7 separate regions of the Homo sapiens genome follow, and regions 2, 3, 4, 5, 6 and 7 are each linked to region 1. The links are contacts of gene promoters, found by promoter capture Hi-C in blood cells and fetal thymus (Javierre and others, 2016). All regions are on one chromosome and are shown on one strand. Each heading gives the region's core, a stretch centred on a gene start or on the middle of the fragment in contact. The rest is flanking DNA. Distances are from core to core; before and after follow the strand shown.

The links. The method cuts DNA at HindIII sites, captures the fragments that hold promoters and counts their contacts. A CHiCAGO score of 5 or more calls a contact.
Region 2: a fragment that was not itself captured here is called in contact with the fragment with the promoter of DUSP23 in region 1 in 1 of 17 cell types (M2 macrophages); the score reaches 6.0 in M2 macrophages.
Region 3: a contact is called between a fragment that was not itself captured here and the fragment with the promoter of DUSP23 in region 1, in 1 of 17 cell types (naive CD4 T cells). The highest score is 5.5, in naive CD4 T cells.
Region 4: a fragment that was not itself captured here is called in contact with the fragment with the promoter of DUSP23 in region 1 in 1 of 17 cell types (endothelial precursors); the score reaches 5.4 in endothelial precursors.
Region 5: a contact is called between a fragment that was not itself captured here and the fragment with the promoter of DUSP23 in region 1, in 3 of 17 cell types (endothelial precursors, M2 macrophages and M0 macrophages). The highest score is 6.9, in endothelial precursors.
Region 6: a contact is called between a fragment that was not itself captured here and the fragment with the promoter of DUSP23 in region 1, in 2 of 17 cell types (naive B cells and non-activated CD4 T cells). The highest score is 5.4, in naive B cells.
Region 7: a fragment that was not itself captured here is called in contact with the fragment with the promoter of DUSP23 in region 1 in 2 of 17 cell types (M2 macrophages and endothelial precursors); the score reaches 5.7 in M2 macrophages.

What each region holds. Positions count from the first base shown.
Region 1 is chr1:159,779,609-159,782,308 of GRCh38, forward strand. DUSP23 (dual specificity phosphatase 23) reads left to right here and starts at 1,354. Exons shown (of 2, transcript NM_001319658.2): 1 at 1,354-1,759; 2 at 2,545-2,700. The coding sequence starts at 1,493. RefSeq lists a silencer at 1,289-1,678 and an enhancer at 1,670-2,246. The HindIII fragment of the contact is 4,062 bases long and covers 128-2,700 here.
Region 2 is chr1:159,458,855-159,461,687 of GRCh38, forward strand. No RefSeq gene overlaps it. Among named protein-coding and RNA genes, the nearest start is that of LINC02819, 5.8 kb to the right of the region's middle. The HindIII fragment of the contact is 2,459 bases long and covers 218-2,676 here.
Region 3 is chr1:160,042,757-160,045,456 of GRCh38, forward strand. The region is part of intron 1 of KCNJ10 (potassium inwardly rectifying channel subfamily J member 10); the gene reads right to left. Among named protein-coding and RNA genes, the nearest start is that of PIGM, 12 kb to the left of the region's middle. The HindIII fragment of the contact is 3,672 bases long and covers 1-2,700 here.
Region 4 is chr1:159,478,067-159,481,134 of GRCh38, forward strand. All of the region lies in intron 2 of LINC02819 (long intergenic non-protein coding RNA 2819), which reads left to right. Among named protein-coding and RNA genes, the nearest start is that of LINC02819, 14 kb to the left of the region's middle. The HindIII fragment of the contact is 6,494 bases long and covers 1-3,068 here.
Region 5 is chr1:159,427,307-159,430,080 of GRCh38, forward strand. It overlaps a transcript of OR10J1 not described here. Among named protein-coding and RNA genes, the nearest start is that of OR10J1, 11 kb to the right of the region's middle. RefSeq lists a silencer at 2,133-2,427. The HindIII fragment of the contact is 3,159 bases long and covers 1-2,774 here.
Region 6 is chr1:160,084,719-160,087,418 of GRCh38, forward strand. It overlaps KCNJ9 (potassium inwardly rectifying channel subfamily J member 9), which reads left to right. Exons shown (of 3, transcript NM_004983.3): 2 at 1-162. Among named protein-coding and RNA genes, the nearest start is that of KCNJ9, 4.5 kb to the left of the region's middle. RefSeq lists an enhancer at 1-410. The HindIII fragment of the contact is 2,152 bases long and covers 354-2,505 here.
Region 7 is chr1:159,496,596-159,499,632 of GRCh38, forward strand. No RefSeq gene overlaps it. Among named protein-coding and RNA genes, the nearest start is that of LINC02819, 32 kb to the left of the region's middle. The HindIII fragment of the contact is 3,393 bases long and covers 1-3,037 here.

The DNA.
Region 1 (2,700 bases), core at 104-2,603:
CAAAGGCTTAAATGGTCAGACGTGTGTCATAGGTGGGTGCAAAGGGAAGGAAATATAATACATCCTCATGGCCAAGTGCCCTGGGCTTGGATCACTGTGTCCTTGGCCAAGTTAACCAACTTCTTTAAGCTTCCAATGATTCATGTACAAAAAAAGATACAAAAATACCTTTCACATGTGGTTCTTCCAGAAAGCGCTTGGCACAGGGCCTGGTACATAAACAAATTCAATAAGGGTTAACTATTTTCATAATTACAGTTAGTCTGCATCGCTAGAAGCACATTATTCAAATGAGGATATGGACTGGTCAGATGACAGTGGAAACGGTGTTCAGATCTAGGGGCCCCCACCTAGTAAGAACAACACTAATCAACTCTAGCCTGCCCAGGGGACAGTGACCCAGAGAACTAGGAAACCTTGAAAAATGAAGAAATATGAAATACTAATAAAAATTAAGAAAACCCACAAGCGTTTAACCCAGATAATATTTGGGGACATGAGGGGGTTATGTGAAGAGAAAACAATGTTCCATTTAACTTTAGGAAATGGCGATATTATTAAAGATTTTGGAGGCATTAGTCATCATCCTTTGGTCAAGTTTATTAACCTCTCCAGTGCCTCTGTTTTTTCATCCATAAAATGGGATTCACTAGATCACCTATCTTATAAGATTACTGTGGCAATTAAATGAGTCAGTATGTGCTAAGTGCTTAGAAGACTATCTAGCACATAATAAATGCTCAATAAGTCCTGAGGAGCAACTGGATTGACAGGAGAAGTTGGTGCTGGTTATTATTATTACTATAATTATTACCCTGGGTAAGTTTTTAATAGTTCCAGCAATGAAAAAATGAGAATAGCCTCCTTGCAGCAGTAATTCCCTCTTACTGGAACAGTTCAAAAAGTCGCTGATAACGACCAGTCAATCATTAGAGAGGAGACTCCTCGTCCTGGGAGAAAGCCGATTTGTCATCTCTTAAACCCCAGGGCATCCAGCGTGAAGGAGGTAGAACTAGGCCGGCCCGCGAGGAGGCAGGGGCAGGCGCCAGTGACGCAATGACTGCAACATGCCGCCAGGGTGCAGCAGAGCCCGACCCCGGGTTGTTCCATCCGCAGCAAACAATTCCTAACTCGCTCCAGGTCTTCCTTCTTAGCTGAGTGGGTTGAACCCCGTGGAAGTAACCCCCCGCCCATTATGATGATCCAGCCAATCACCGCGTGATCTGCTCGGACGGGGCGGGATCGCGGCGCTTCCCTCGGTCGCTCAGAGACTGGGTTCCGCGTTCCAGCCCCGCCCCAGGTTCTGGGCCAATCCCCGCGGCTGGGCAGAGCGACCCGAGGGCGGCGCCCTGCAGACCACGTGGCCCGGGAGGCGCCGAGGCCAGGTAGGTGGTGAGTTACTTGGCTCGGAGCGGGCGAGGGGACGCGTGGGCGGAGCGGGGCTGGCCAGCCTCGGCCCCCATGACCCGCTGTCCTGTGCCCTTTCCCAGCGATGGGCGTGCAGCCCCCCAACTTCTCCTGGGTGCTTCCGGGCCGGCTGGCGGGACTGGCGCTGCCGCGGCTCCCCGCCCACTACCAGTTCCTGTTGGACCTGGGCGTGCGGCACCTGGTGTCCCTGACGGAGCGCGGGCCCCCTCACAGCGACAGCTGCCCCGGCCTCACCCTGCACCGCCTGCGCATCCCCGACTTCTGCCCGCCGGCCCCCGACCAGATCGACCGCTTCGTGCAGATCGTGGACGAGGCCAACGCACGGGGAGAGGTCAGCGGGCGGGGTCAGCGCAGGGAGGGAGGGGCCTGGAAGGTCAGCGGGGGACACGGGCGGAGCTGGGGAGACCGGGCCTGGGATAACTTAACTGGGCTCGGGGAGGCAGACAGTAGGGCCGGGAGACTGGGAAGCCAGTGCGGGGGAGGGAAGCGCTAAACGGAAGGAACTAAAGAGAGGGCGAAGCAGTGCGAACTGGGCTTGAGGAGAGGCAGTGAAAACCAGCTAATACTGTGAGTTGTGAAGGAGAAGGGTGTGGACAGACACCTGGGAGAGGTGGGGGTTGAAGTCAGGTGGAGGCTGTTTACCATTTTCTAGAGTAAAGCTGTCCAAATATAATGGAACCTAAGTGGCTCCATGTAATGTTAATTTTTCTAGCAACGGCATTCTTAAAAAGCAGGGAAGCAGATAAAATTAACTTTGGTGATCTTAATGAGATATTTTCATTCTTTTTTCTACTACCTCTTCATACCCTGTTGCGTTTTTCACACTACATCTCAGTTTGGACTAGCCACATTTCGAGTACAGTAGCCACAGTAGCCGTGGCTACTGTCTTCTGTATTGAACACCACAGGTGGAGGGCTGTGTAGAGGTGGACAGCTCTTGAACCAGCCAGTGCAGAGGCCTCCTAGCCACCTAGTGCAGGGACAGCCCTCCCTGACTTTGCTGCAGAGCCCTGGACCTGGCACAGAAGAAGGAGCTGTGGGGAGAACCAAGTGAGGGGCAGGAAACAGTTGTGGGTGGGGGAGTTGAGTGGCACCCATCGAGCCCCCTCTTCGTAGGCTGTGGGAGTGCACTGTGCTCTGGGCTTTGGCCGCACTGGCACCATGCTGGCCTGTTACCTGGTGAAGGAGCGGGGCTTGGCTGCAGGAGATGCCATTGCTGAAATCCGACGACTACGACCCGGCTCCATCGAGACCTATGAGCAGGAGAAAGCA
Region 2 (2,833 bases), core at 197-2,696, 320 kb before region 1:
CTAATGCTAGATGACGAGTTAGTGGGTGCAGCGCACCAGCATGGCACATGTATACATATGTAACTAACCTGCACAATGTGCACATGTACCCTAAAACTTAAAGTATAATTAAAAAAAAAAAAAAGATAGCATCTTTTCTCAACAGATTTACAGATTCACACAATTCTAATCAAAATCTCAGCAAGGTATTTTGTAAATATTGACAAACTGCTTCTAAAGCTTTTATGGAAAGATAAAGCATCTAGAATAGCCAACACAATACTGGACAGAACAAAGTTAGAGAACTGAAAGCTACTGAAATTGAACTTGTATCCAAAATGTACAAAGAACTCTTACAACTCAACAATAACAAAACAAGTAACCCAATTTAAAAATCAGCCAAATAACTGAATAGCAACATCATCAAAAATCTATAGATAGCAAATAAGCACATGAATAAATGTTCATCATTTCTTATTAGGAAAATGAAAATTAAAATAACAATGAAATACCACCACGTAGTTATTAGAATGGCTAAAATTTAAAACACTGACAACTCCAATTGCTGGTGAAGATGTGGTACAGTAGGAACTCTCAATCATTAAGGGTTGGGATGCAACATGGTATAGCTACTTTGGAAGAGAGTTGGACAGTTTTACACAAAGATAAACATATTCTTGCCCTATGATCCAGCAACCACACTGCTAGGTGTTTATCTAAATGATGAAAAACTTTTGTCCACAAAGAAATCTGCATACAAAAGTTTATAGCAGCTTTCTTCATAGTCTGTAAAAATTGGAGTCAACCAAGAAGTCATTCAATAAGTGAGAAGGTAAATAATCTGTTGAACACCCACACAATGGAATCCTATTCAGTATTATAAGTAATAAGCTGTCAAACATTTTAAATTTTGATGACGTTTTAAATTTTAATGAAACCCAATTTATCATATTTTTCATGGATCATAATTTTAGTTTAAAGAATCCTGCCTATATTTATGTGAGTAGTCTACTTTGACTTAATTTTTATATAAGATATGAGACTTAGGTTGAAGTTTATTATTATTATTATTTTTGCCCGTGAATCTCTAAGTGCTCTAGCATCATTAATTGTTGAACAGGCTATCTTTCTCCATCAAATTACTTCGTAATCTCTCTAAAAAATAAGTAGGACATATTTGTGACTATTTTAGTTTCTCTATTCTGTCCTATTGATCTGTTTATCTATCTTTCTACCAATACTTAACAATCTTTATTATTATAAATATATAATAAGCCTTAAAATTTGGTAGACTTATTTCTTCACTTTACTCTTTCTTTCCTATATTATTTTAACTATTCTAGTTCCTTAGCTTTTCCACATAAATTTTAGAATAATCTTTTCTATATCTACAAAAAAATTCTGAGATATTGATAGAAATTACATTATTTCTATATATCAATTTAGGAAGAAGTAATGTATTCACTATATGAGTCTTCCAATCCATAAACACATATATCTCTTCACTTACTTTGATCTTTGATTTTTTTATCAGCATTTATAGCTTTGAATATACAAATCCTATACATATTTTGTTATACTTACTGCTATTTCACTTTTTTTCCAGTTGTAAATGGCTTTTTGCTACTAATTTCAGTGCCTGCGTGTTCATTACTAGTATATAGAAATGCAATAGATTTTTGTAGGTATATCTTATATTTTATGATCTGACTGAACTCACTTATTAGTTCTAAGAGATTTTTGTAGACTCCTTGGAATTTCTACATAGACAATTATGTCTTCTGCAAAGAAAGACATTTTATTTCTTTTTTTTTCCAATCAGGATGCTTTTTATTTCCTCTTTTTGCCTTATTGTGCTGGCTAGTTATAGCATTGTGTTAATAAAAGGAAGTGGACATATTTACCTTATTTTCAAACCTATAGATAAAGCAGTCAGTCTTTCACCATTAAGTACAAAGTTAGCTGTAGGATTATCATCATATTATGTCTCTCTCTTTCTCTGGTCATTTTCTTTTCTCAGAAGCCTACCTTACCTCATATTAATATACCCAATCCTGGTTTCTTTTAATTAATACTTGCATGATTATTCTTTCCCATTTGTTTATTTTCTACCTGCCTATATTTAAAGTTAATTTCTACTAGACAGCATATATTTAGGTCATGTTATGACATCCACTCTGCAATCTGTTTTGATTTGGTATATCTAGACCATTTATGTTTTATGTAATTATTAATATGCTAGGACTTAAATCTGCTATTTTATTTCTTTTCTATTTTATCTGTTTTTTTGTGTTTCTCTTTTTCATGCCTTACTATGGGTAACATGGACATATTTTCAAATTCCATTTTGATTTTTCTGTTTCATTTTAGATGTAGATTTTGGTATAGATTTTTGGTGGTTGTGGTAAGTATTATATATACAAAATTCATCATAGTCTAGGTGTCATCAGTTTACCAGTTTGAGTAAAGAGTAGAAATCTTACCTCCATTTATATCCCTTTATCCTCCTTCTTTTATAACATAATTGTCTTAAATATTTCCTCTACACAAATTTAAAACCACATCAACCCTTATAGCACTGACAGATATAATTTTCATTTTAACCAAACATAACTTTTAAAACTCCAGAGAAGGAAAATCTATTTTATTTACCTCTATTTTCACATTCAATTTTCTTTCTTCCTCCCTGATATTTCAAGCTTCTTTCTGGTACTGTTTCCTTTTTAAGAGAACATTCCTGTCTGGGAGGGAGAGGTATGTCTCGTTGCCACTCCTATGTGACTTCCACTGAGCCTATAAGTGGGGTGGTCTTATTACTACCGGCTGGCAATATAAGTCCTGACATGCAACTCAG
Region 3 (2,700 bases), core at 160-2,659, 260 kb after region 1:
CAAAACCCTGTCTCTACTAAAAATACAAAAATTAGCTGGGCATGGTGGCATGCGCCTGTAGTCCCAGCTACTCAGGAGGCTGAGGCAGGAGAATCGCTTGAACCCGGGAGACAGAGGTTGCAGTGAGCCGACATCGCGCCACTGCACTCCAGCCTGGGTGACACAGCGAGACTCCGTCTCAAAAAAAAAAAAAAGTAAATAAAATAAAATAAAATAAAATGACATCATTCTGCTCTCCAAGAACTCACAGCCTAGTGAGAAAGATGCCTATTTAGTAAGCAAATAATTGCAACACAGTCTGATATTTGTAATTCTTAGCGGAAGAGAGGCAGAAAAGAAAGAGTAGTAGCTTCACATTCCTTGAAGGTGAGGGTGAGACTAATGAGAGCCTTCACCACAAAACCAGTCCTCCGAAGAGCTCTAATTTTGAAATAGGATCCATCCCCACCCTTATGAATGGCTATGAAGCAAGACAAGCTATCCTGTTGAAATCCTTCCAGGCCAATCCCCCTTAAAACACACACACACACACACACACACACACACACACACACACACAACCTTAATTTCTTCATTCTCTGCTCTACCCCCAAGCCAATACCCACTGGTGATACTAAGATACTCATCTGGTTCAGAGAATAGCAGAAACTACCCATTCTTTTACCCTTCAAGATGCTCCCTAAGCACCCAGACCATTTCATTTTTTATCATCATCATCATCATCTGTTTGCATCATCTGGGGAAATTTGGTCTGAGTTAGAGTCTAGGGCAGTGTTAGGAAGAGTACAGATGGGACTTGAACAAAAGGAAATAAGCAGTGGTGGAGGAGAAACAACATGTTAAAACTTCCTGGAAGCACTGGGACATTTTCTGAAGGACTGGCAGAAATGCCAGATTGTGGGTGGCAAAATTGTTTTGACAGAATGAAGTAGAAGAGCTAGGGGTGTATATTAACTAGCAGCTATGTCTGCACAGGCTCAAATTCAGTATTGCTATTTGTTCTGATAGCAGAAAGTGGGGCAAGCCACTGAAATAGGAGACAATTCACTTAATACAAGGTGCCTGGCACCCTTGCCCAAGCAGTAACTTGTACTTTTCCAGCACAGAAAGAATTTTAATCACTTGAGCCCTTGGACCCTGGATCTGATAGCCAGATCTTCTGTGGAGCAGGGTGATCTCTGGGGAGTTTAGCCCTTCTTGGAGAGGCTCATTACATTCTCCATTCGAAAAAGTCTGAACCATTGCATTTTATGATTCTTCACACTGCCCACCCCACCCCCCATCTCTATTTTCCCCATGGCCTTGTCCCTGGAAAACTTCAAATCTTTTGGGCCTGACCATATGCCCAACCAGGTAGGCACTGAATTGGAGATCACCAATGGATGAGAACCCTGAGAATGTTCAGAGGCAACAAGGATGCCCAATTTACCAGCCCTGTGTCACAGGCCATTTGGAACTTCCGTTCATGCAAGACTGTTCAACCAGACCTGGATGTCATTCACTCCCCTATATCCTTGGCTGCTTTGGAACAAAAAGGAAGCTCTGCAACTCTGAAGTTTGAAGAATTTGTATTTCAAGCCTAAACAAAGCCCTATTTAGTACTCAGTAGTAGTAATAATAACATAACAACCATACTGCCTGTATCTATATACCATTTTAGAATTCACACATTAGAATACCTTCTCATTTGATCCTCAAACTCTTGAAAAAAAAGATGTAAACTCCTATAAGATTTTGAGGAATGAGAACAGAAGAAGTGCTGTAAAATTAGAGATGAATGAACATAGTTTTAATTTTCAAAAAGAAAAATGAAGTACCTTTCACAAACTACAAACAGGTAAGATATTGATCCTAGGCAAGATTCTAGAATGGAATATTAAGATTACGAGTACTTAGGTAGGATGGGGGAAAGGAAGTTATCAATAGGACCCAGTGTGGATTTACTAAGAACAAGTCACATCAAAATGGCCTAATTTTGGCTGAGTGTGGTGGCTCATACCTGTATCCCAGCACTTTGGGAGGCTGAGGCAGGAGGATCACTTGAGATCAGAAGTTCAAAACCATCCTGGGAAACAGCAAGACACCATATCAGCAAAAATTTTTAAAAATTAGCTGGATATGGTAGCACACACCTGTACTCCCAGCTACTTGGAGGCTGAGGCAGGAGGATCACTTGAGCTCAGGAGTTGGAGGCTGCAGAGAGCTATAATCATGCCACTGCACTGCAGCCTGGGCAACAGAATGAGACCCTGTCTCAAAAACAATAATAACCTAATTTTCTTTTATGATAAGGCTACTAAATTGACAAATCGAAGAAGTGCAACAGAGAACGTGTACCTAAACTTCAGGAGATTTTTGACAAGATCTCTCATTATGACCTGGGGATAAGATAAAGAAAAATGAAGAGAATGCTAATCTAATTCGGTGACTTTAAAAATCAGTGGTACTGGTGAGGGGACCATGATAGCCTGGAATTCATTTTCTATTGATACACCAGAGAGCTTCATCTTTGGCCTTGCCCTATTCAATTTTCTTAACATGAACTTCATTCAAAACTATAGAATGCTATGGCCATCAATTGTGTGCCTGACAGAAAGCTGGGACAGATAGCAAATGCAAGAGCTGGGGCAGAATTAGGATCCAAAAGGAGTCAAATAAGTAGGCCAAGTCTAACAAAAATGTTAAGTGCTGGATTATGTA
Region 4 (3,068 bases), core at 355-2,854, 300 kb before region 1:
CCTGAAAGACTCAGATGAAACAAAGTGTTACCTTTTTTCATGAAGGTTTCTTCTTGGTAGGGAGAAGTATCATAAACAAATTCATAAATATACAAATATAATGTCACACATTATTTTTAATAAAATAATACAGAGCAAGGGTAATACAGAGGCTTTTTTTTTTTTTTTTTTTTTGAGACGGAGTCTGGCTCTGTCGCCTAGGCTGGAGTGCAGTGGCGCGATGTCGGCTCACTGCAAGCTCCGCCTCCCGGGTTCACGCCATTTTCCTGCCTCTGCCTCGCGAATAGCTGGGACTACAGGCGCCTGCCACCGCGCCTGGCTAATTTTTTTGCATTTTTAGTAGAGACAGGGTTTCACTGTGTTAGCCAGGATGGTCTCGATCTCCTGACCTTGTGATCCGCCCGCCTCGGCCTCCCAAAGTGCTGGGATTACAGGCGTCAGCCACTGCGCCCGGCCAGAGGCATTTTTATTAATGGGCTGGGCTTGTGAGACTTCTGTAAAAAAGCGACATGTGAGTAGAGACCTGAGTAAACCACAGAAATATGAGATATACAGATATCTGAAGAAAGTGAGTATGTTTTTGCCTTATATCACATTCAACACAGTGGCTTTTCCAAATCACCAACTATAGCCCTACTCATTCCAGTCTTAGTCAGTGACTTGGTATCCTACCTTACCAGGAATATTAAGGCATTTTGACATGTGTTCCTTCAAATCTCTCCTCTTAACCAAATGTCTCTCTGTATCTTTATTCTACCTCTGTTGCCCTGTGACCCTCTTTGGGGAAGAAGAGTCTGCTCTCATGGCCAACACTAATCTCTCCATTTGTAACTGAAGACAAGCAATGTAGTGGTGTTCTCAACTGCCAAGGAAAAATTGTGCATTTCTGCCTCCGGGGAACACTGCCATTTTCACAGAGTATGAATCAGAAACTACTGATGCTTCATAAAATAAGACAGATGACTCTCAGTGCCATATTGCAAAAGGACATGTTCAGTAGACTGTTCATTAATTTATTATTTAGTGAGCACCTGCTTATGTGCCTCATATTAGCAGTGATAGTAGAAAGCCAGGACCCCAAATCTTTGGCCAGCTGTCTCCTGCTATAAATTCTTAATAGGGCATGTTCGGCACAGATTACACTCCAGGAAATTGCATACATTTGTCCCCAAATAAAGTCCAGTGTCTGATGACCAGGCCTGGTTCACATGTGCCGTCTGAGATTTTCTTCAGCTGGTGCAGATGTAAAGTCTTAGGATAACCTCTTTGACTTTTCCCACCAGGTCTACTACAGGAATTTGGCTAGCTGGGGTTTTTCGTTTGTTTGCTCATTTGTTTGTTTGTTTTAATGAAACAGTAAAAGGAGGGACAGAAAGAAGATCCTGAGAATAAGAACTCAAATCTCCCTAAGTACAGTCCAGGCTTCCCTCACTCCAGGAGCTCACTCCAGGCTTCTCTCTGTGCCCTTTCCAGGACTGTCGGCCTGTCCTGATGCAGACATGCTTCAAAGCCTGGAAAAGTAGGCACTATTGCTGTACCAGCCCCATTGGAATAAGGGCAGAAGCAACAATAATTCCAACTGACAACCTTCTTGAAAAACACATGTAACCTCTTTGACCAACCTGTTAAAAGATATACCTGTTTCTTTTACTCCTCCCAACATCAACACTGTATTATAGTGCCCCAAGAAACCTAAGAATCTTTTTGCTTTTATTCTAAAACTGATAATTACTTCTGTTGTCAATGATGTATCCTGCTTTTATGACCTGTCAGAAAATAAATAATCATATAATAAATAACTGACAAATCATTACACATAAAGTTCAGCATTTTCCATGTCTAAGTGCATCAGTATTTAAGTTCAGTTCTTACTCTTGCCATTGTTGTCTGGATAAACTTGGAAGGATTACCTCCACACACAAACATCACCACTTACACCTTGCACCTCTGGATTCTTCCTAACTCTCACAAAAACTTTGTTCCTATTCCTGAAATTGTGATTTCCCATCATTATGAAGACAATCAAAACTTTGGGAGTCATGGTGATGAGCTCTTAGAAAACCTTTATCCACTTCACAACTGGATGAATTATCTTCTTTCTTTCATCAAGATCAGGTCTGCCACTTGTTCGGAACCCAAATCTAGCACTATAAAACTTCAAAACAATTCTTCCAAGTGTGTAATAATATTCAATGTGTTCTTAAACACAATGTCTGCTATGACCCTCAAAAAAATTTTTTTAATTGTAAAGTGAGCATAGCAGAAAGTGTTAGCTCCATTTTATAGGAGAGAAATGTGGTACACATTTTTTGTGAACCTGTCAAACTCCAAATGTTTTCTTCACTGTAACTGCCTTTACTCTGAATCCATATTGTTTAATTCTCAAAATTTATCTCTTTGTAATGTGACCCTATCTTTGATCAGAGTTGGTAGAATCAGAGAAGTTTATCAAATCCCAGTTAGATCACTCTGATTCCCTCATTTAGGAATTTGGAACTAGGAAAGAAGTAGAAATTGGGAAGTAAAAATGTAGAGAAGAAAATGAAACAGGAGAGTCAGGAAGTGGTGGGGAAAGATGAAAAGAAACTGTCCATGTAGATTAAACTATAACATTAAATTGGTAGTTTTTGTGAGGAAAATAGCCATCTGAACAGAAAAAAAAGGAAGTAAATAGATTACAGACAGAAATGGAGACAAAAAAGTGAGAGAGAGTGCTAAAACTTCCCAACTTCATCATCTAATGTCTTCTTAAGGTGTGGCTACATTCTTGCACTTAAGTTTTATGGGATGCTGCTACAATTTACAATGAATTTTTCTTTTTCTTAAGCTAGGTCTAATTGATTTTTACATTTGCAACCAACATGAAAAATAAGATTCAAAGTGATTAATAGTACCAAAGATCACATTGTCTGGTAATGAAAACTGAAAAATTCAAAAGCAAAGCCCAGGTCCCCTGACTTCTAGTGAATTAATTATGATGGGTTATTTTATCTTAGAGACATCTGTGTAGATCTAGATGGAGCAAAGATAGAAAGATTTGTGCATCAAAGTCAAAAGGAGGAAGACGG
Region 5 (2,774 bases), core at 94-2,593, 350 kb before region 1:
ATGATGAATTTAAATGCAAAAATAAAGAAAACTAAAAAAATAGATATTTTATTTTTTAAGTTTGGATAGTTGAAGAGATTAATTAGAAATGAAACCCCTAACAGCCATGATCAACAAAAATCAAAGAGACACAAGAAACATTATCAAGTAGGATACAAGGACAGATACGGAGGAACAAAATACTTATAAAAGCACATTTTGAACAACTTTATACTAATTTATTTTTAAAAGGTATATAAAATGGGCAGATTTGGAGAAAAGGATATATTACCATAATTAGACAAGAAATAGAAAATGTACTAGAATAAAAACCCCATAAAACAGGAAACGCTAGTAGTGAAAAACCTACTCTTTCCAAAAAACAAAGACACAAAAAACAACATCATGCTCAGAGGATAGAAAGGTGTGAGATTTAGCCAGCATTTAAAGAGGCTGCTAATTGCAAACCTTTCATACCAAAAATAGCCAAGTTGGAAAAGATAATTATCGGCCAATAATGGATAGATGAAAAAATAGTAAACTGAATTCAGCAGTATATACAAAGATCAAGTAGGGGTTTCCGTTAAAACGTATGAATGAGCCAATATTTTAAAAATTTCTTAATGTAATTCACCCCTAACAACTTAGAGAATAAAAAGCATATGATTATGTCAATGAATGCAGAAAAGAAACTAGCTGAAAATTTAACAGACCATTTATGATAAACTTGCAAACAAACCAGGAATAGAAGGGAACTTCCTTATATCTGCCAGAGATCTATAGCAAGCATCATGTTTAATGGTTAATAAAACATGAAAAACATTTAAAGTCCGAAAAAAAGACAAAAATGTATCTATAAGTGTTAGTATTGAATATTATATTTCATAACCAAATGCAATGTGAAGAGAAATAAATGAGAGAGATAAAAATCAGAACAGAAAAGAGAAAACTGTCAAAATGTGCAGATGATGTAGTCGTCAATACATTTTTCTCCTTTGTCAGAAAAAAACCTACATTCATCCTAGATTTTCTTAGCCTTTTCTCCCTAAACCCATCTTTCTTCAGATAAACACACAATAAAACTTATATTTTAAAAAGTCAGTCACTTTTCTGTTCACAATTTCAGTATCGGGTTTCCTTTTCTTTCTCATAGGTTTCAATTCCATTCTATTTCTAATTTCAAAGAGCTACATATTTAAATAGCTACCAGGAGAACTATAAAGAAGAGACATTGACAAAAAAGGCCCAAGATTAATGATTATTTCAAGGTCTCGATAAGACTTGCTGCCCAACTTTAAGCCTTCCTTTAGCTGCTCCCTAAAGGATTTCAAACAGTCCTAACGAAGTTATGCACTGGCCATTCTCAAGCAGTGATAAATATGCCGTAAATTCATCTCTTGCCTGTGGGACTTTGGATCTTAATAGCTTATGAGCTCAAGTACTTCCAGTTTCTGTTGGGTAAATGTTTGAGGGCCTTAAGAGAGATTATGTGGAATTGAACTGAATGCCTGGCAACTCTTCCATGCTTGTCAGTCTCTCCCAGCTTACTTGGCTTGTCAAAGACACCACAATAAACTGTCCTGCTTTCAAATATTTATTTCTCAGTATGCTGGTACTTAGAGAGTCCTTAAGAGAAAGATACAAACTGGGCACCAGAACTAGGAATTACTGAAGAGCCCAAGTCTTAGGGTATCCTGGGGGATTTGATATCCAATTCTCTTCCAACCTTCAGAAAGGCCCATCTTGGGCTCACCTTCTAAAAGGAAAGCAAGGTTGGGTCAGTTGATGGACTAAGTTCTGGAGAGAGAAAGAGGGGGCTACAGAAATTACTTCAGTAAAGCTCTTCCTTCTGATCTCCTCAAGGAGAAGGTGCTCAGCTTTTTGTGGGTAACACACAGGGGTAGCCAGGTACTGCAAAGCAGGCAAAACTGGCTTACACTACAGGTGTAGTGTTCCCAGTTTCTGCTGTATTCCATGTTCCTAGCATGTGAGAGACATTCTTTGAGTATTTGCTGAAGAAATCAGTAAATGAATGAGTCATGGTTCCCACAACATTCAAACTGAAGAGACCTCAGAGGTAGGTCCTTCAGCAGTTAGGACAGAGAGACCCTGGAGTGTGAGTGATTTGTCTCATGACGCTGCATCCTTAAACATGATTGGTTCTGAGGCCCTCCCCATAATGCGATCATGAGGCATGAGTCCTCTTCAACCACGGAGCAGTCCAGGACCTTATGCTGATGCAAAGACTTCATTCCTGTGGGAAAAACCAAGATTGTCGAAGTACTAGTTGTATGATTGTTGATGAGTCACTTTTATAATGAGTTCCCCAGACATCAGAGTGTTTGGATTGTGCTATTGCTGCCTTGCAGACAGTCACTGTGGTTTTGGGGAGAGGGACCCCAGAGTCCTAGGGCACAGGAGAATGGTCCTCTTGGGCAGCCAGCAATTCAGACTTAAAGGGACAGGGCAATGGGGAGGTGCAGGAGAGCCTGGTGCTGCTTTTTGTATGTTTGTTACTCCCAGATCTGACTGATCAGGGAGATAAATTAACTGAAAGGTCCTGGTAGGTTCTGTTTTATTTCTAGTCCTCCAGTTTGGAAGATTCTCTGTGTGCTGTGTCTGCCACAGTACAATGGGAGTCCTGGAAATTCTAGTTTCAAGCCTCACTCTCCTGAATCCTGAATAAGCCTCCATCCTGCCCAGTGATATGTAAGTCACATTTCAGGACTTGATGCAGGGATTCTTGTTCTGTAACTAAATGTGACCTCGTGGCCCTCATCTCATAACCTCATGAC
Region 6 (2,700 bases), core at 180-2,679, 310 kb after region 1:
TGGGCTTCGACACGGGAGACGACCGCCTCTTCCTCGTCTCGCCGCTGGTTATCAGCCACGAGATCGACGCCGCCAGCCCCTTCTGGGAGGCGTCGCGCCGTGCCCTCGAGAGGGACGACTTCGAGATCGTCGTTATCCTCGAGGGCATGGTGGAAGCCACGGGTGCGAGCAGGCCTGGGGAGGGGAGCGGGGTTGGCAGAGGGTGGGCGGGACCGAGGAAGGCAGGGGCGAGACTAGGGGCCAGGGGAGCTGGGGAGGATGGATGGAGGGGCTGGTGGAGGATGAGACAGTGAGGTGAGACAGGGGTCGGAGGCGGGAGTGGAACCGAGCAACGCCGCAGAAGGCCAAGAGAAAGCTTGGAGGAATTCTCCGAAATGGCACTGGCGTGGGGCCCTGGGCCCAGAGGAATGTGTCACTTGGAATAGGGACAGTAATAATAGCTAGTGCTCGCCCAGTATTCACCCTGTGTCATGCGCAGTTCCAAAGCACTTTCTACCTCTGAGTCGATTTAATCCTAACAAGAACCCTCTGAAGGTAACTTCTTGTTATTGTGCTCACTTTTTAGAGATGAGATTGCTCCAATGAGAAATTAAGGAAGTTGTCCACTTTCCTAAGCCAATAAGTGGCCATGCCTGGATTGGACACAGGCAATGTGGCTTCAATGTTTAGTGGTCCCGAGTTGGAAGGAGGGGTTAGGTTCAGGGGTTTTCTCACTGCAGTCAGGTTCAGGCCCCTGGAATTTGACGGTGAAGGTTTTCCATTGCCTGAGTTATTTCTAGGCCGGATCTTGAGGGGAGTTTAATACCTAGTCTCACTTGTACCTCGGTTTCCCAATTCATCCATTTCCACTGACAAGGGATATAGATGATGTTACCTTTTCTAGCTCTTTTCCAAAAGGAACTGGCAACTCATCTGTGATGTCAATAAGTCCAACCCAGACCTACACAGTGAAGGCTTTGGGAGCAGGTGAAAAAAGACCAGTGTTACAGGAGTCGCAAAGGAGGTCACTTAGGACTTGAGATCTAGAGGATAGATGAGGATGAGGAAACTGCGGGTGGAGGACCAAAGGCCCACTAGGGGGCGCCGCAGTCCCTCCTCTGACGCCAGAGCTGCTGATGCTCCCTGCCGGCTTCGCTGACAAGCTGGTGCCTTCAGATCCTTTCCCTGGCCCCTTTAGGCTGAGACTCCGCTTCACACCCCAACCCCAGCTCCGCATCACTGTTCCCATTCCTGCTTCACCCCGACTCTTTCCTCTTCCCCCACTCACCCCGTTCCCTTTCCTCTCTCTCCAGCTGTCACTCCTTTTCTGCCAGTATCTCAGGCAGGCCCCTCACCCTCCAGGGAAGTTGCTGCCCGGCCCTCTTTTCTCTTTGTACCCCCAGCCCTGCCCTCTCCTCCTCGAAGCCCTTCTCTCCCCAGTGTCCCTTATGCCTCTTTCTCTTCTCTCCCACTGGATACTTTCTATTCCAACTTCACCGAGGAATACCAATGTCTCAGCGCCAGGCTTTCCGAGTTGACAGCCACTCTCCGGTTAGCTAATGTTCACTCTTCTGTTTCCCCTTGTTCCGAGATGGATATGGGTTGGGGGCAAGACCCTGTGGCAGAAAGGAGAATGACCTGCCCTGAGGGGTGCACCAGCCCAACAGGAAGATAGGACACAAGCCCCGGGCAGGGAGGACCAGGACAGAGGAGATGAGGATAGGAATCTGTCTGTTTTTCTAGAGAGATAAAGCTGGAAAGGATGGTAATATTTTGGGTGAGACAGTCAGGATTCAAAACGCTTTTGAAAAGCAAGAATAATGAGCCAAAACCCAGCAAGATGACATTTAAAATGAATAAATATAAAATTCTACATTTAGGCTTTAAAAAAATCACTTATGTAAGCACAGCATGGAAGAGCACTGGTGAAAAAAGAACTGGGAGTTTTAGTTGGCTACAGTCTTGATGTCGTAGCAATGTGATGCAGCCTCCAAAATGATTATGTAATGTTATCCTGGGCCCTATTAGTGAAAGCATCATGGCCAGAAGAGAGAGATGGTGCGCGCTCTCTTATGCACGGAGCAGGCCACAGTTGGAAAATTTACTATACTCAAAATGCTTAAAGGGCCCTCCTTGGCCATTCTGGCTTGTAATCAAAAAAGTAGAGTTCTGGAAAACCAGGTCAAATGAGGAATCGTGGAGGAAGCCAGGGATGTTAAGTCAAGAGAGAAAACATGAGGGAATCTGAGACTCCTGTTTTCAGATACTCAGAGGACTGTGAAGTGGGAGGGGAATGAAGCCAAGAGTTGGAAATCCCAGGGTACAGGTTTTAGCTCTGTATAAAGAACAACCCAACTATTAGAGCTATCATACAAAGGAGTGGGCCCTTTATGAAGTGGTGAGCTATCAATCCTGGGAGGTAATCAAGTATAAGCTAGATGCCCATTGTTAGAAATGCTCCTTTGGGGAGCCCTGTATGGAGTGAGAAGTTGGACTAGAGGATCCCTAAGGTTAGTTTCAAGGTTAAGCTTTTTTTGGTTGGCATCACCAAATGACAGGAGGGGAAAAAAGAGCTGGACATTAAGAGGAGTTGGGGCAAATGGAGAAGACACGAGGGAGCTGGGTAAGAACAGGAGCTAGGGAGGGGGGGAAATGGACTGGACCAAAGGGAGGTGGGAGCCCTTAGGAAGGAATAGAAGGGAGGGTGCTGGGAGTAGGGTT
Region 7 (3,037 bases), core at 226-2,725, 280 kb before region 1:
TGAATCATCCTTGCATGCCTGAAATGAATTCCACTTGAGTATAGTGAATGATCTTTTTAATGTGTTGTTGAATTCAATCTGCTAGTATTTTGTGGAGTATTTTTGTATGTATGTTCATCAGAGAAATTTGCCTGTAGTTTTCCTTTTTTGTTGCTGTTGTGTCTTTGTCTGGTTTTGGTACCAAGGGATGCTGGTCTTATACAATAAATTTTGTATTTTCTTTAATATTTTAGAATAGTTTGAAAAGTATTTGTATTGGTTCTTCTTTAACTGTTTGGTAGAATTTAGCACTGAAATCATCAGCTCCTGGACTTTTCTTTGGTGGGAAACCTTTTATTTCTGAATCAATCTTCTTACTCATTATTGATCTGTTCAGAATTTTTATTTCTTCATGATTCAATTTTAGTAGGTTGTATGTGTCTAGGAATTTATCAATTTCTGTTAATGGTTTTCCAATTTATAGGCATATAGTTGTTTATAATAATCTCTAACAATCCTTTGTATTTCTTTGATATCAGTTGTGATGTCTACTTTTTCATCTTTAACTTTATTTATTTTAATCTTCTCTCTTTCTTACTTGGTCTAGCTAAAGGTATGTCTGTTTTGTTTATCATTTAAAAACTCTTTGTTTTATTGATCTTTTGTAATTTTATAGTGTAATTTATTATTTCTTTTCTTTTAATATTTTTGGGTTTAGTTTGTTCTTGTTTTTCTAATTCCTCAGGTGCAACATTATGTGGTTTATTTGATATCTTTCAAATTTTTGGTGTATGCATTTATTGCTATAAGTTTTCCTCAAATAACTGCCTTTGCTGTATCTAATAGCCTTTGGTATGTTGTATTTTCATTTTCATTGTTTGAAGAAAATTTTAATTTCCTTTTTAATATCTTAACTGACCCATTTGTTATTCAGGACTCTATTGTTTAATTTTTGTATACGTTGCTTGTTTTCAAGATTCCTCCTGTTATTAATTTCAGATTTTATCCCACTGTGGTCAGAAAAGATGCTTGATATGATTAAGATATTTTTACATTTTTTTGAGACTTGTTTTATGGCCTAACATGTGATCTGTCCTGGAGGACATTCCATGTGCTGATGAAGACTGGATTTTATAGCTGTTGGGTGGAATATTCTGTAAAAGTTTCTTAGATTCATTTTATATAGAGTCCATTTGAAATCCAATGTTTCTTTACTGATTTTCTTTCTAAATGATCTGTCCATTGCTAAGCATGGGGTGCTTAAGTCCCCTACTATTATTAAATGTTACAGTTTATCTCTCTAATTAGATTTATAACATATGCATTATATATTTGACTATCCAAGTGTCAGATGCATATAAATTTATAGTTGTTATGTCCCCTAGTTGAATTGACACCTTTATAACCATCTTTGCATCTTTTTACTTTTTTAACTTAATGTCTAGATCTAAGTATAACTACTTTTGCTCTCTTTTGGCTTTCATTTGCATGAAATATCTCTTATCCCGTTTCCATAGAATATCCTTTTTCATCCCTTTACTTTCAGTGTATGTGTGTCCTACAGGTAAAATGACTCATTTGCAGGCAGCATCTAAATGGGTCTTTTTTTCTTTTTTATCAATTCACTCACTCTATATCATTTAATTGGATAACTTAATCAGTTTACATTCAAGGTTATTACTGATAGGTAAAAACTTACTACTGTCATTCTGCTAGTTATTTTCTGGTTATTTTATAGATCTTTTGTTCTTCTCCCTCTCTTGTTGTTTACCTTTGTGGTTTAGTGATTTCTTTAGTGATAAGTTTTGTTTCCTTTCTCTTTTTCATATGTGTATCTGCTGTAATTTTTTAAATTACTCTGGGTTTACATAAAACATTACAGCTATAAAATACCATTATAAGTTGGTAACAACTTAGCTTTGGTCACATACAAATATTCTAGACTTTTACCCTCTTCCCCACAATTTTTCATTTTGTTGCCTTAATTAAAATCTTTCTATGTTGTGTATTTCTTAACAGTGTATTTAGTTTTGGTAATTGTAGATGATTTTTAACCTTCATACTAGACATTTGAAAGATTTACATACCACTATCACAGTAATGCAGTATTCTGAATTTGATTATGAGCTTTTCTCTCAGTGAGTTTTATATTCTGTGATTTAATGGTAATAAAGTCCTTTCACTTCCAGTTAAAGCATTCCCTTAATCATTTGTTGTAAGGTCAGTATAGCAGTAATATGGTTTGCCTGTGTCCCCACCCAAATATCATCTTAAATTCCCATGTGTCGTGGGAGGGACCCAGTGGGATGTAATTGAATCATGGGGACAGGTTTTTCAGCAGTATCACTTATTCATGATAGTGAATATGTCTCACAAGATCTGATGGTACTATAAGGGGGAGTTTCCCTGCACAAGCTCTCTCTCTTTGCCTGCTGCCATCCATGTAAGATGTGAGTTGCTCCTCCTTGCCTTCCACCATGATTGTGAGGCCTCTCCAGACATGTGGAACTGTAAGTCCATTGAACATCTTTCTTTTGGAAATTTCCCAGTCTCAGGTAATGTCTTTATCAGCAGCATGAGAACAGACTAATACAAGCAGTGATACATTTCCATAGCTTTTACTTGTCTGGAATTTTGTGTCTTCATTTTTGAAAGATAGCTTTGCTGAGTATAGTATTTTTAGATGATGATTTTTTTCTTTTAGCACTTTGAGTAGGTCATCCTATTCATGATCCTATTCTCTCCTGGCCTGCAAGGTTTCTTCTGAAAAATCTGCTTATAGTCTAATGGTGGTTCACTTACATATTGACTTGATGTGTTTATAATTCTTTTTGTCTTTGACTTTTGATAGTTTAATTATAATGTACCTTGGAGAGGATCTCTTTGAGTTGAATCTAATTAGGATCCTTTAAGCTACATGTATCTGCATATTCATATCTCTCCCAAAACATGAGACATTTTCAGCTATTATTTCGTTCGATAAGTTTTCTATGCCTTTCTCCATCTGTTCTTCCTATGAAAATCACATAATGCAAACATTTGTTCATTTAATGGTTGG